4 separate regions of the Homo sapiens genome follow, and all the other regions are linked to region 1. The links are contacts of gene promoters, found by promoter capture Hi-C in blood cells and fetal thymus (Javierre and others, 2016). All regions are on one chromosome and are shown on one strand. The core of a region is centred on a gene start or on the middle of the fragment in contact, and the rest is flanking DNA. Distances in the headings are between cores, read along the strand shown. Region 1 holds the start of NLGN3 (neuroligin 3). Region 2 overlaps TAF1 (TATA-box binding protein associated factor 1). Region 3 has its middle 20 kb from the start of TAF1. Region 4 has its middle 64 kb from the start of SLC7A3.

Region 1 (2,769 bases), core at 163-2,662:
GCAATCAGCCACCACGAGAGGGGAATGAGAATGTGTGTGTGTGTGTGTGTGTGTGTGTGTGTGTGTGTGTGTGTGTGTGTCTGTGTGTGTGTGTGTGTGAGAGAGAGAGAGAGAGAGAGAGAGAGAGAAGAAAAAGGAAGAGGAGGGAGGGCGGGTAAAGTGGCTAAAGGGGTGGGGGCTCAGAGGAAATGAGGAAATGGGGAGCAAAGTATGGGGGGTAAGATCCCAGACACTGCCCAGAATGCACCCGGGTGTGGGGAGGAGGGGAAGGGGAAGGAAGGGGTAGGAGTAGGGAGGTGGGGCAGGAGGGAGTGGGTGGGTGTGTGTATTGGGGGGGGCATAGTCCGCAGCTGAGTTCACACAATCCCCCCATTCACCGTCTCCATGGCAACTCCAGGGCACAGACCGCTCATTCACACAGCTTCCCCACCAGCAACCCCCCCACATTAACCCCCTCGGTGCTGCCCCCAACCCACAAATTCCATTAACCCTTTCGGGATGCCCTCCTCTCCAGTAACCCTTCGGCGCCAAATGCCAAATTCTCCTTTGAGTCAATTCCCTGCAGCCCCTCCCCCGTGAACACCTAGACAATCGGACCGACCCCCAAACGCCCTCTGTACCCTAGGACCCACTGTGAATCCCCAAGGCCAAGATCTCCATCCTGGTCCAACTTGCAATTTGGGAGAAGACAAGGGGAGGCAGCAATGCCGGGGATGAGAATGGCATCTCGGGGTACTTTTGGGGCTGCAGCGGTGCTGGGCGCGGGGCATTGTGCAGGAATGGACCAATATTGAGAACTGCAGTATTGGGGGCTACGAGGGCTTGGAATGGATTGGGGGATGGAGTTGCACTGGAATGGGGGAGGATAGGATAAAGGCCTCCATTGGGTGGGGGGGCTGCAGATAGTGGGGGAGGGAGCCTGGCTATGAGATGCTATGATGGAAGGGGGATGGGGCTGCACTGCAGGGGAGGGGGGACTGGCAATGTGCAATCCCGGGATGGGGCTGGGGGCCCTCAATAGGGGTATTTTGATGAGCATGCGGGATGGGCTGTGGAAATAGAGGGACCATGGGCGGGAGGATGTTAGGGATGCGGGATTTAGGGAGGAGGTAGAAGGGAGAACAGAAGCGGGGGAGGATCGGGGGTCAGGGGTACCGATGGAGAACATGGGGTTGAGAGGGATGGGGGCCACTGGCTGGGGAGTGGAGGAGCCTGGGATTGGGAGGGGTTAGGATGGGGGCAAGGTATGGGCAGCTAGAGGATGAGAGACCGGGGCAGGCGGCCTCACCTGTTCCCCGGGCTGCTGCAAGCGACTGAACCGGGCCACGGACCACCCATATCGCCTCCAGGCCAAGGGCTCCGCACCCGAATCCCCGAGATCAGCTCTCCGGCAGCCTGGCTGCTGTGCCCGCGCACCGAGGGGGCGCGCTGCGCGTTCCCGGACACGGGGGGGCGCGGTCCCTGCCATTAACTCCTTTTGTGCCAGAGATGGCTCAAGTCCTGGGGCATGGCCCAATTCCCCCCATGCTCAGGCACGTTCCGCTCCCTCTCTCTCACGCGGGCGCGCACACACACCTCAGATTGCAAGCTATCAGACAGGTGATCTTCCAGGGCAGCTAGCCCAAACTTTACCCGCAAAGCTTGAGACTTTGTCCCAAAGGGAGAAACTGAGGCACTGCCTGCAGGAACCCTCAGTCATACTACACAAAAACACACCTCCACCTCAATCAGCATCCCTTATTTCTCAGCGCCAGCACTACCCAAGCAGCAACCAGTGGGGCCACTCTGCTCTCATCCTGTCACTCTCCCAAAGGTCAATGCTGTTCCCTTCTGCTGCTTCTGCTGGGGCATGTCAGACTGTCAGCATGCCAGTTGTCTGACCATTTCAGTCTCTCCCCTCCAGGTTCAGTGTCTTTGTGTCTTGTGTTTTTGTATGTGGCGCACCTGCCATTTGTTTAGCAACCCCCAAGCCCCTCTGAATGTCCCTCATCCCAGCCAAGCCTGTACTCCTGTGGCTCCTCAGAATGTTTATGTCAGGATAGAATAAGTGAGAAGAAAGCTTCAGTCATGTTTGCCTTTACACTGTTGGGGAGTTCCATTCCTTGTGCACGCAACTCTTAAACTTGGTAAGTCCCATATAAGCAAGGGCTTCGTGGGCCTCAAAGAGGGCTATTTTATTTTTTATAACTTGGGTACTGATTGGTGCTCCTGGTTTTGCCAGCACACTAGACACTTCCCAGTAATAGGGTGCAACTATGGCTTGCATGTTATCCTTAAGTTGTCAAATCATCCTGTACCACCCACTCACAAGGCTGAGGCTGATCCTCTTCCAGCCCTAGCTAGGCAGGGCAGAAGACTCCAAGACTCCATTGTAGTAAACCAGTTGGCTCTCCTGGACAGCCTTGGATCTAGAACTCAAACTGGAAAGCAAGAGGGCGAGAATGGCCCTGCCGCAGCTCCAAATGTGACTCTGGGGCAACAGTTTTGAGTTTTCTCTACTGTAAAATGGGAGCGAGCAAGTCATCCTGGGTAACTGCCAAGGTGGGTCACGTGAGAACAGGCAGTTCTGGCAGTAGGGCAGAGAGAGAAAGGGTGCTTATTTTTACTGGTCTCTCTTCCTCCTAGAACCAAACGGTCCTTCCACGACCTATTCTATGATGGCACATGCCAATGGAGGGCAATTTTTCATCCAGGAATGTGACTCTCAGGGAAGTTCTCTGTCCTATGAAAGGTATGCCACTTGGTGCATGATGGGGACCACACAAGATG
Region 2 (2,769 bases), core at 114-2,613, 250 kb before region 1:
ATTATGAAATAGTGCCTGGAACTCCTCCCCCTTTCCAGCTTGGATTTTCTGCAGCACTAAAACGACCCACTTGTTCTGTAGGTCAAAGATGCGCTGACATTCCTCTTTGTAACGCTCTTGATGCTCAGCCACAGAAAACCTTGATCCACGGGCAAATTTACTCATGGGCCCCTCTCCAGAACGAGCCTGTTCTGTTGACATTGTGCGCACCACATCAATCACTTCCCAGCGGGACAACTTTTTAATCTACGAGACAAATAGCCACACACAAATATAAATATACACACACACACACACACACACACACACACACACACACACAAATCATTCAGGGATTTCAAAGGACAAGCCAATGTACACAGTTAGACCAAAAAAGAAAAATCACCCCAAAGCAGATTACATAGAAAGATAACTCCTAAAACAATATCTAAGACTTAGCTTACTATACCCTACAATAAAGTTCCCCAGATAGTTCTTTACATCTGCCTCCTAGCAATTCCAACTCTATACAAAGCCCCTAGTATACTCTAAATTTTCCACTTCCACACTCACCTCTTCCTCAGGCACACCAAATTTACGTAGAAGTTGCTTGGCATTTTTCAGGGAAAGGCGACGAAGGTCTGCATCTGTTCCTGTCACTGTCTTCTTCACTGGCTGCGGTTCTTTATCATCCTACCTCAAACAAAAAAAAGTGAGACTCCTAAAAACCTGAATTCCTTTTAAGTAGGCATCTAAGTCATTCTGCTACCTTAACTACATTCCAAGTCCTCCACTCACCCATTTCTTTCTCCCTTGACTTTTTCATTCTAGAAATAAACACAATCTCACCTTCTGCTGTGTTGGTTTGTTTGGAATCTTCACATAGGAGAATCCTTCACCACACCCCGTGGGATCTGCCACCCCAGTCACCTCTAGCAGACACTTGCCCTTCATGGCAGCAATGAAGGCCCTTGTGGTGTTCCAAGGGGCAGTGCGAACCTGAGATAAAGAAAAAGATTCTCAGGGCAGTGGGAAACATTTGTTCTATGTCTAGCCAATATCTACAAGAGTAGAATAATTACAAACTATTTTCATGTTCTTTTTTTCTAATTTTTAATTTCTGTGGGTTCATGCTCTCTTAAACTGTCCACAAAAATCAACAGTTAAATATAGCTACCTAGTACTCAGTTCTCTTCTATCCTATGGTACAATACTTACAACATGATATTAAATAGAGGTCAAGAGCTCAGGCAGGATAAGGAGAAAAATAAAGAACAGTGGTATCCCTTCAGCCCCTTATCCCTTGGGCTTCAATAAACATTCTTAAGGACAGTGTTTCCCTCACCCTCATGATGCTCAAAATTAGACTAATGACTACATTTGATTGTCCAATTGCTCAAACAGCTGTTTTAGAATGAAACCTATTTTCTCGAAATACTTGACATGCTTGCTTTCAAAGCATTGGCCCCTTTTCCAGTGACACTAAACCAAAGTCCATTCTATTTCTGCCACTGGTTTGGTCAAAAAGGTCTGTCCTCTCCTGGGACCCTGAATAGTGTTTACCAACCCCTGCAAGATTCTTAAAGAATTAAGCCAAGGGGTGAATGTGCCTGCCCACACAGACCAGTCAGGAGTACATGAGGCCAGGTGTGGTGACTCACACCTGTAATCCCAACACTCTGGGAGGCTGAGGCGGGCAGATCTCTTGAGGCCAGGAGTTCAAGACCAGCCTGGCCAACATGGTGAAACCCCATCTCTACTAAAAGTACAAAAATTAGCCAGGCGTGGTGGCGCACACCTATAGTCCCAGCTACTCAGAAGGCTGAGGCACGAGAATGGCTTGAACCCAGCAGGCAGAGGTTGCAGTCAGCAGACTGCACCACTGCACTCCAGCCTGGGAGACAGAGTGAGACTCTGTCTCAAAAAAAAAAAAAAAAAGAGTATATATGATTAGCAAGAAAATGGCCATTCTCTAAGGTTCAATCTGGAAAGCCATTCAACAGAATTCTTTTTTTATTTTTAATTTAAAAAAAATTGTTTTTCTTTTTTAGAGACAGGGTCTCACTATGTTGGCCAGGTTGGTCTTGAACCCTTGGCCTCAAGTAACCCTCCCACCTTGGCCTCCCCAAATGCTATGATTACAGGCCTGAGCCACTGCGCCTGGCCTCAAAAGAATTCTTAATTTCTGAAATTCTTAGATATCCACTCATTTTTCATTCCAACCTCAAGAGAGTAGTACAACGATTCTTTACTCACTCTGTGTGGCCTCATTTTCTGCTTCATTTTATAATCACTTAATTCATTTAACAAATATTTATTGAATACCAACTACACACTACTCCTCCATACTACTTTTTCATGAACCTCAAGTTAGTGAGGGAAAAACAGCCAACCAAGTTCAGTACTATGTGATCAGTGCCACGGGAAGAAAGTAGAGGCCAGGCACAGTGGTTCATGCCTATCATCCCAACACTTTAGAAGGCCAAGGCAGGACGATCGTTTGAGCCTAGGAGTTCAAAATCAGCCTGGGCAACACAGTAAGATCCCATTTCTTTCTTTCTTTTTTTTTTTTGAGATGGAGATTCGTTCTTTTAGTCCAGGCTGGACTACAATGGCGTGGTCTCAGCTCCCGGCAACCTCCACCTCCCAGGTTCAAGTGATTCTCCTGCCTCAGCCTCCCAAGTAGCTGGGATTACAGGCGCACGCCACCACGCCCGGCTCATTTTGTATTTTTAGTAGAGTCAGGGTTTCACCATGTTGGCCAGGCTGGTCTCGAACTCCTGACCTCAG
Region 3 (2,769 bases), core at 128-2,627, 200 kb before region 1:
CTGTAATCTCAGCACTTTGGGAGGCCGAGGTGGCGATGGGGGGAGGGGGAGGGGATCAACTGAGGTCAGGAGTTCGAGACCAGCCTGACCAACATGATGAAACCCCATCTCTACTAAAAATACAAAAATTAGCCGGGTATAGTGGCATGCGCCTATAATCCCAGCTGCTCGGGAGGCTGAGGCAGGAGAATCGCTTGAACTCGGGAGGCCGAGGTTGCAGTGAGCCAAGATCATGCCATTGCACTCCAGCCTGGGTGACAAGAGCAAAACTCCATCTCAAAAAAAAAAAAAAAAAAAAAGGCCAGGTGCGGTGGCTCACGCCTGTAATCCCAACACTTTGGGAGACAGAGGTGCGATGACCTGAGGTCAGGAGTTCGAGACCAGCCTGACCAACATGGTGAAACCCCATCTGTACTAAAAATACAAAATTAGCCAGGCGTGGCGGTGCATGCCTGTAATCCCAGCTACTCAGGAGACTGAGGCACGCGAATCACTTGAACTTGCAATGAGCCAAAATCGCACCATTGCGCTCCAGCTTGGGCAACAAGAACGAAACTCTGTCTCAACAAACAAACCAAAAAATAATTTTTTTTAATAAAATAATTCTTAAAAAGATAAACAAAAACACAAACCGAGTGTGGTGGTGCCCGCCTGTAGTCCCAGCTACTCTGGAGGCTGAGTGGGAGAGGATCGCTTGAGCCCAGGAGTTCAAGTCCAGCCTAGGCAACATCGCGAGAGCCCAGTCTCCAAAACAAATATAATCTTAAAAAAAAAAAAAGACAATGAGGTAGTGCGAGAATTACAGTTCCTTTCTATCAGTGTACATTAGTTTGAATTTCCAAGAGTTTTATATAAATGGAATCGTACAGCTTTACTGAGATATAAATTCATACACCATTTAAAATTTACAATTCAGTGGTTTTTGGTATATTACATTTTTAATTTTTATTTATTGTTTTTATAATTTTAAAATAAATTTAAAATTTTTAATTAATTTTATTTCTTTATTCATTTATTTTTTGAGACAGAATCTCACTCTGTCCCTAGGCTGGAGTGCAGTGATATGACCACAGCTCACCCCAGCCTCCACCTCCTGGGCTCAGGTGATCCTCCCACCACAGCCTCTCCACTACAGGCGAGCACCACCATGCCCAGCTAATTTTTGTATTTTTTGTAGAGACAGGGTTTCACCATGTTGCCCAGGCTGGTCTCGAACTCTTGGGCTCAAGTGATCTGCCCACCTCAGCCTCCCAAAGTGTTAGAATTATGCATGCGGCCTGTGTCTTTGCTGTTTTGTTTTGTTATGTTTTGTTTTGTTTTGTTGAGACAGAGTCTCGCTCTGTTATCCAGGCTGGAGTGCAGTGGTGCAATCTCGGCTCACTGCAACCTCCACCTCCCGGGTTCAAGCGATTCTCCTGCCTCAGCCTCCTAAGTAGCTGAGACTACAGGCACGCGCCACCACACCTGGCTAATGTTTGTATTTTTAGTAGAGAGGGGGCTTCGCCATGTTGGCCAGGTTGGTCTCAAATTCCTGACCTCAGGTGATCTGCTCTTCTCGGCCTCCCAAAGTGCTAGGATTACAGGCGTGAGCCACCGTGCCCAGCCACCTGTCTAGTTTTACTTTTTGCAGAGACAGGTCTCTGTGTTGCCCAGGCTGGTCTTGAACTCCTGGGCTCAAGCAATACACCTGCCTTCAGCTCCCAAAGTGCTGAAATTATAGGTGTGAACCACTGCACCTGGCAAATCTTGCTTTTCTACCCAATCTGATCATCTCTACCCTGTAATTAGGGTGTTAAGAACATCTAAGTTTAATGATTGTTAATATAATTAGATTTGGGTCTATCATCTTGTTTTTATTCGTCCCATCTCTTTGTTCTCTTTTTCTGACTTCTTTTGGATTAGTCAATATTACTTTTATTCCATTATATCTCCTATATTGGGTTATTAGCTATTCCTCCTTGTTTTAGTGGTTGCTTACAGGTTTATAGAGACATTTTTAACCTATCTCCATCTACCTTCAAATATTATACTATTTCACAGAGAGTGTAACAGCCTTACATTAATAGGCCAGGTGCGGTTGCTCACGCCTGTAATCTCAGCACACTGGTAGGCTGAGGCAGGCAGATCATCTGAGGTCAGGAGTGCGAGACCAGCCTGGCCAACATGGCAAAACCCCATCTCTACTAAAAATACAAAAATTGGCCAGGTGTGGTGGTGCATGCCTGTAGTCCCAGCTACTCGGGAGGCTGGGGCAGGAGAATCGCTTGAACCTGGGAGGTGGAGATTACAGTGAGCCGAGATCATGCCACTGCACTCCAGCCTGGGCAATAGAGCGAGACTCCCTCAAAAAAAAAACAAACCTTACATTAATATATTTCCAGGTTGGGCACAGTGGCCCATGCCTAATAATTCCAGCACTTTGCAAGGCTGAAGTGGGCAGATTGCATGAGCTCAGGAGTTTGAGACTAGCCTGGGCAACACGATGAAACCCTGTTTCTACCAAAAATAGACTTTATTTTTTAGAGCAATTTTAAGTTCACAGTAAAATCAAGTGGAAAGTACAGAGAGTTCCCATATATTCCGTGCTGCACCCCACAACCTCCCCTACTATCAAACTCTAGCATCAGAATGGAAAAAGAGAACAAAGAACAGTGTGCTATTGTTGAGCTGACTGGGCATGGTGGCTCATGCCTGTAATCCCAGCACTTTTAGAAGCCGAGGTGGGTGGATCACTTGAGGTCAGGAGTTCAAGACTAGCCTGGCCAACAT
Region 4 (2,769 bases), core at 79-2,578, 150 kb after region 1:
TTATTAGTTTTCTCTTTGCTTGTTTGTTAGTTACCTTGTTTGTTCATGCAATTAGTGTTAAGTTGTCATCAGTTTAATAATAACATTGAATGTAAATGGACTCAACTCTCCAATCAAAAGACACAGAGTGGCTGAATGGATAAAAAAAAAGCAAGACCCAATGATCTGTTGCCTACAAGAAGCACACTTCCCCTATAAAGACACACATAGACTGAAAATAAAGGGATGGAAAAAGATATTCCATGCCAATGGAAATAAAAAAGGAGAAGGAGTAGCTGTACTTCTGTCAGACAAAATAGATTTCAAGACAAAAACTATAAAGAGACAAAGAAGGTCATTATATAATATAAATATAAATATATATAAAGAGACAAAGAAGGTCATTATATATAAAGAGACAAAGAAGGTCATTATATAATGATAAATTCAGCAAGAGGATATAACAATTTTAAATACATATGCATCCAACACCAGAGCACCCTGATATACAAAAGGAATATTATTAGAGCTAAAGAAAGAGACAGAACCTAATACAATAATAGCTGTAGACTTCAACACCTCACTTTTAGCATTGGACAGATCATCTGGACAGAAAACCAACAAAGAAACATTGGACTTAATCTGCACTATAGATTAAGATCTGCAAACTGATCTAAAAGATATTTACAGAACATTTCATCCAATGGCTGCAGAATACACATCTTCTCATCAGCAAATGGATCATCCTCAAGGATAGACTATATGTTAGGCCACAAAACAAGTCTTAAAACATTAAAAAAAAATTATGTCAAGTACATTCTCTGACCACAGTGGAATAAAACTAGAAATCAATAACAAGAGGAATTTTGGAAACTATACAAACACATGGAAATTAAACACCATGCACTTAAATGACAAGTAGGCCAATAAAAAAAATGAGAAGAAAACTGAAAAATTTCTTGAAACAAATGATAATGGAAGCACAACATACCCAAACCTATGGGACGCAGTGAAAGCAGTACTAAGAGGGAAGTTTATAGCTATAAGCACCTACGTCAAAAAAGTATTAGGTTGATGCAAAAGTAATCGCGGTTTTTGCCATTGAACATAATGGCAAAAAGTAATGGTTTTCACTTTCAATGGCAAAAACCGCAATTACTTTTGCACCAACCTAGAAAAAACTTCAACCTAGTTCTAGTTGAAGAGATAAACAACCTAAATGAACTTTTCTAGTTCTTTAACATGCATCATTAGGTGGTTTATTTGAAGAATAGAACCTAATGATGCATGAGACAGAACTAGAAAAACTAGAAAAACAAGAAAAAACAACCCCAAAATTAGTAGAAGAAAATAGATAGTAATGATCAGAGCAGAAATAAGTGAAATTGAAACAAATAAAACAATACAAAAGATTGATGAAATGAAAAGTTGTGTATTTTTTGGAAAAGATAAACAATATTGACAAACCTTTAGTCAGACTAAGAACAGAAGAGAGATTATCCAAATAAATAAAATCACAGATGAAAAGGGAGACTTTACAACTGATACTGCAGAAATTCAAAGGATCATTAGAGGCCACTATGAGCAACTATATGCCAATAAGTTAGAAAACCTTGAAGAAATGAATAAATTCCTAGACATATACACCTTCCCAAGATTGAACCATGAAGAAATCCAAAACTTGAACACACCAATAACAAGTAATGAGATCGAAGCTATAATACTAAGTCTCCCAGCAAAGATAATCCTGGGGCCCAATGGCTTCACTGCTGAATTTTACCAAACATTTTAAGAAGAACTAATACCAATCCTATTCAAACTATTCTGAATAACAGAGGAGGAGGGAATATTTTCAAACACACTCTACAAGGCCAGTATTACCCTGATACCAAAACCAGACAAAGACACTTCAGAAAAAGAAAACTACAGGCCAGTATCCCTGATGAACGTTAACGTAAAAATTCTCAAGAAGGCCAGGCATGGTGGCTCACGCCTGTAATCCCAGCACTTTGGGAGGATGAGGCGGGTGGATCACATGAGGCCAGGAGTTTGAGACCAGCGCGGCCAACACGGTGAAACCCCATCTCTACTAAAAATACAAAAATTAGCTGGGCGTGTTGCTGCACGTCTGTAAACCCAGCTACTCAGGAGGCTGAGCCATGAGAATTGCTTGAACCTGGGAGGCAGAGGTTGCAGTGAGTTGAGATCGTGCCACTGCACTCCAGCCTGGGCAACAGGGTGAGATCTTATCTCAAAAAAAAAAAATCCTCAAGAAAATACTAACAAACCAGTCAGATGCAATGGCTCATGCCTGTCAATCCCAGTGCTTTGGGAGGCCAATGTGGGAGGATTACTTGAAGCCAGGAGTTTGAGACCAGACTGGGCAACATAGTGAGACCCTGTCTCTACTAAAAAAAAAAAAAAGACAAAAAAAGACTAGCAAATCGAATTCAACAACACATTAAAAGATCATTCATCATGGCCAAGTGGGATTTATCTCTGGATGCAAGGATGGTTTAATGTATGCAAATCAATCAATGAGATATGTCATACCAATAGAACAAAGGACAGAAACCATATGATCATTTCAACTGATGCTGAAAAAACATTTAATAAAATTCAACATCCCTTCATGATAAAAATCCTCAAGAAACTGGGTATAGAAGAAACATACCTCAACACAACACAAGCCATATATGACAGACCACAGCTAGTATCATACTGAATGAGGAAAACCTCAAGGCCTTTACTCTAAGATCTGGAACACAACAAGGATGACTACTGTAAACA

Evidence for each region. Contacts are between HindIII fragments. The CHiCAGO score rates a contact against its expected background, and 5 or more counts as called.
Region 2: a fragment that was not itself captured here is called in contact with the fragment with the promoter of NLGN3 in region 1 in 1 of 17 cell types (total B cells); the score reaches 6.1 in total B cells.
Region 3: a contact is called between a fragment that was not itself captured here and the fragment with the promoter of NLGN3 in region 1, in 2 of 17 cell types (M2 macrophages and naive B cells). The highest score is 5.8, in M2 macrophages.
Region 4: a fragment that was not itself captured here is called in contact with the fragment with the promoter of NLGN3 in region 1 in 1 of 17 cell types (M2 macrophages); the score reaches 5.2 in M2 macrophages.

What each region holds. Positions count from the first base shown.
Region 1 is chrX:71,143,484-71,146,252 of GRCh38, reverse strand. NLGN3 (neuroligin 3) reads right to left here and starts at 1,412. Exons shown (of 8, transcript NM_181303.2): 1 at 1,289-1,412. It overlaps LOC124905197 (a long non-coding RNA gene), which reads left to right. Exons shown (of 4, transcript XR_007068262.1): 4 at 2,626-2,769. RefSeq lists a silencer at 341-596. The HindIII fragment of the contact is 4,718 bases long and covers 1-1,642 here.
Region 2 is chrX:71,390,778-71,393,546 of GRCh38, reverse strand. TAF1 (TATA-box binding protein associated factor 1) reads right to left here. Exons shown (of 38, transcript NM_004606.5): 19 at 829-978; 20 at 553-672; 21 at 71-246. Among named protein-coding and RNA genes, the nearest start is that of TAF1, 26 kb to the right of the region's middle. The HindIII fragment of the contact is 3,497 bases long and covers 1-2,769 here.
Region 3 is chrX:71,345,167-71,347,935 of GRCh38, reverse strand. No RefSeq gene overlaps it. Among named protein-coding and RNA genes, the nearest start is that of TAF1, 20 kb to the left of the region's middle. The HindIII fragment of the contact is 5,105 bases long and covers 1-2,769 here.
Region 4 is chrX:70,993,912-70,996,680 of GRCh38, reverse strand. No RefSeq gene overlaps it. Among named protein-coding and RNA genes, the nearest start is that of SLC7A3, 64 kb to the right of the region's middle. The HindIII fragment of the contact is 8,810 bases long and covers 1-2,769 here.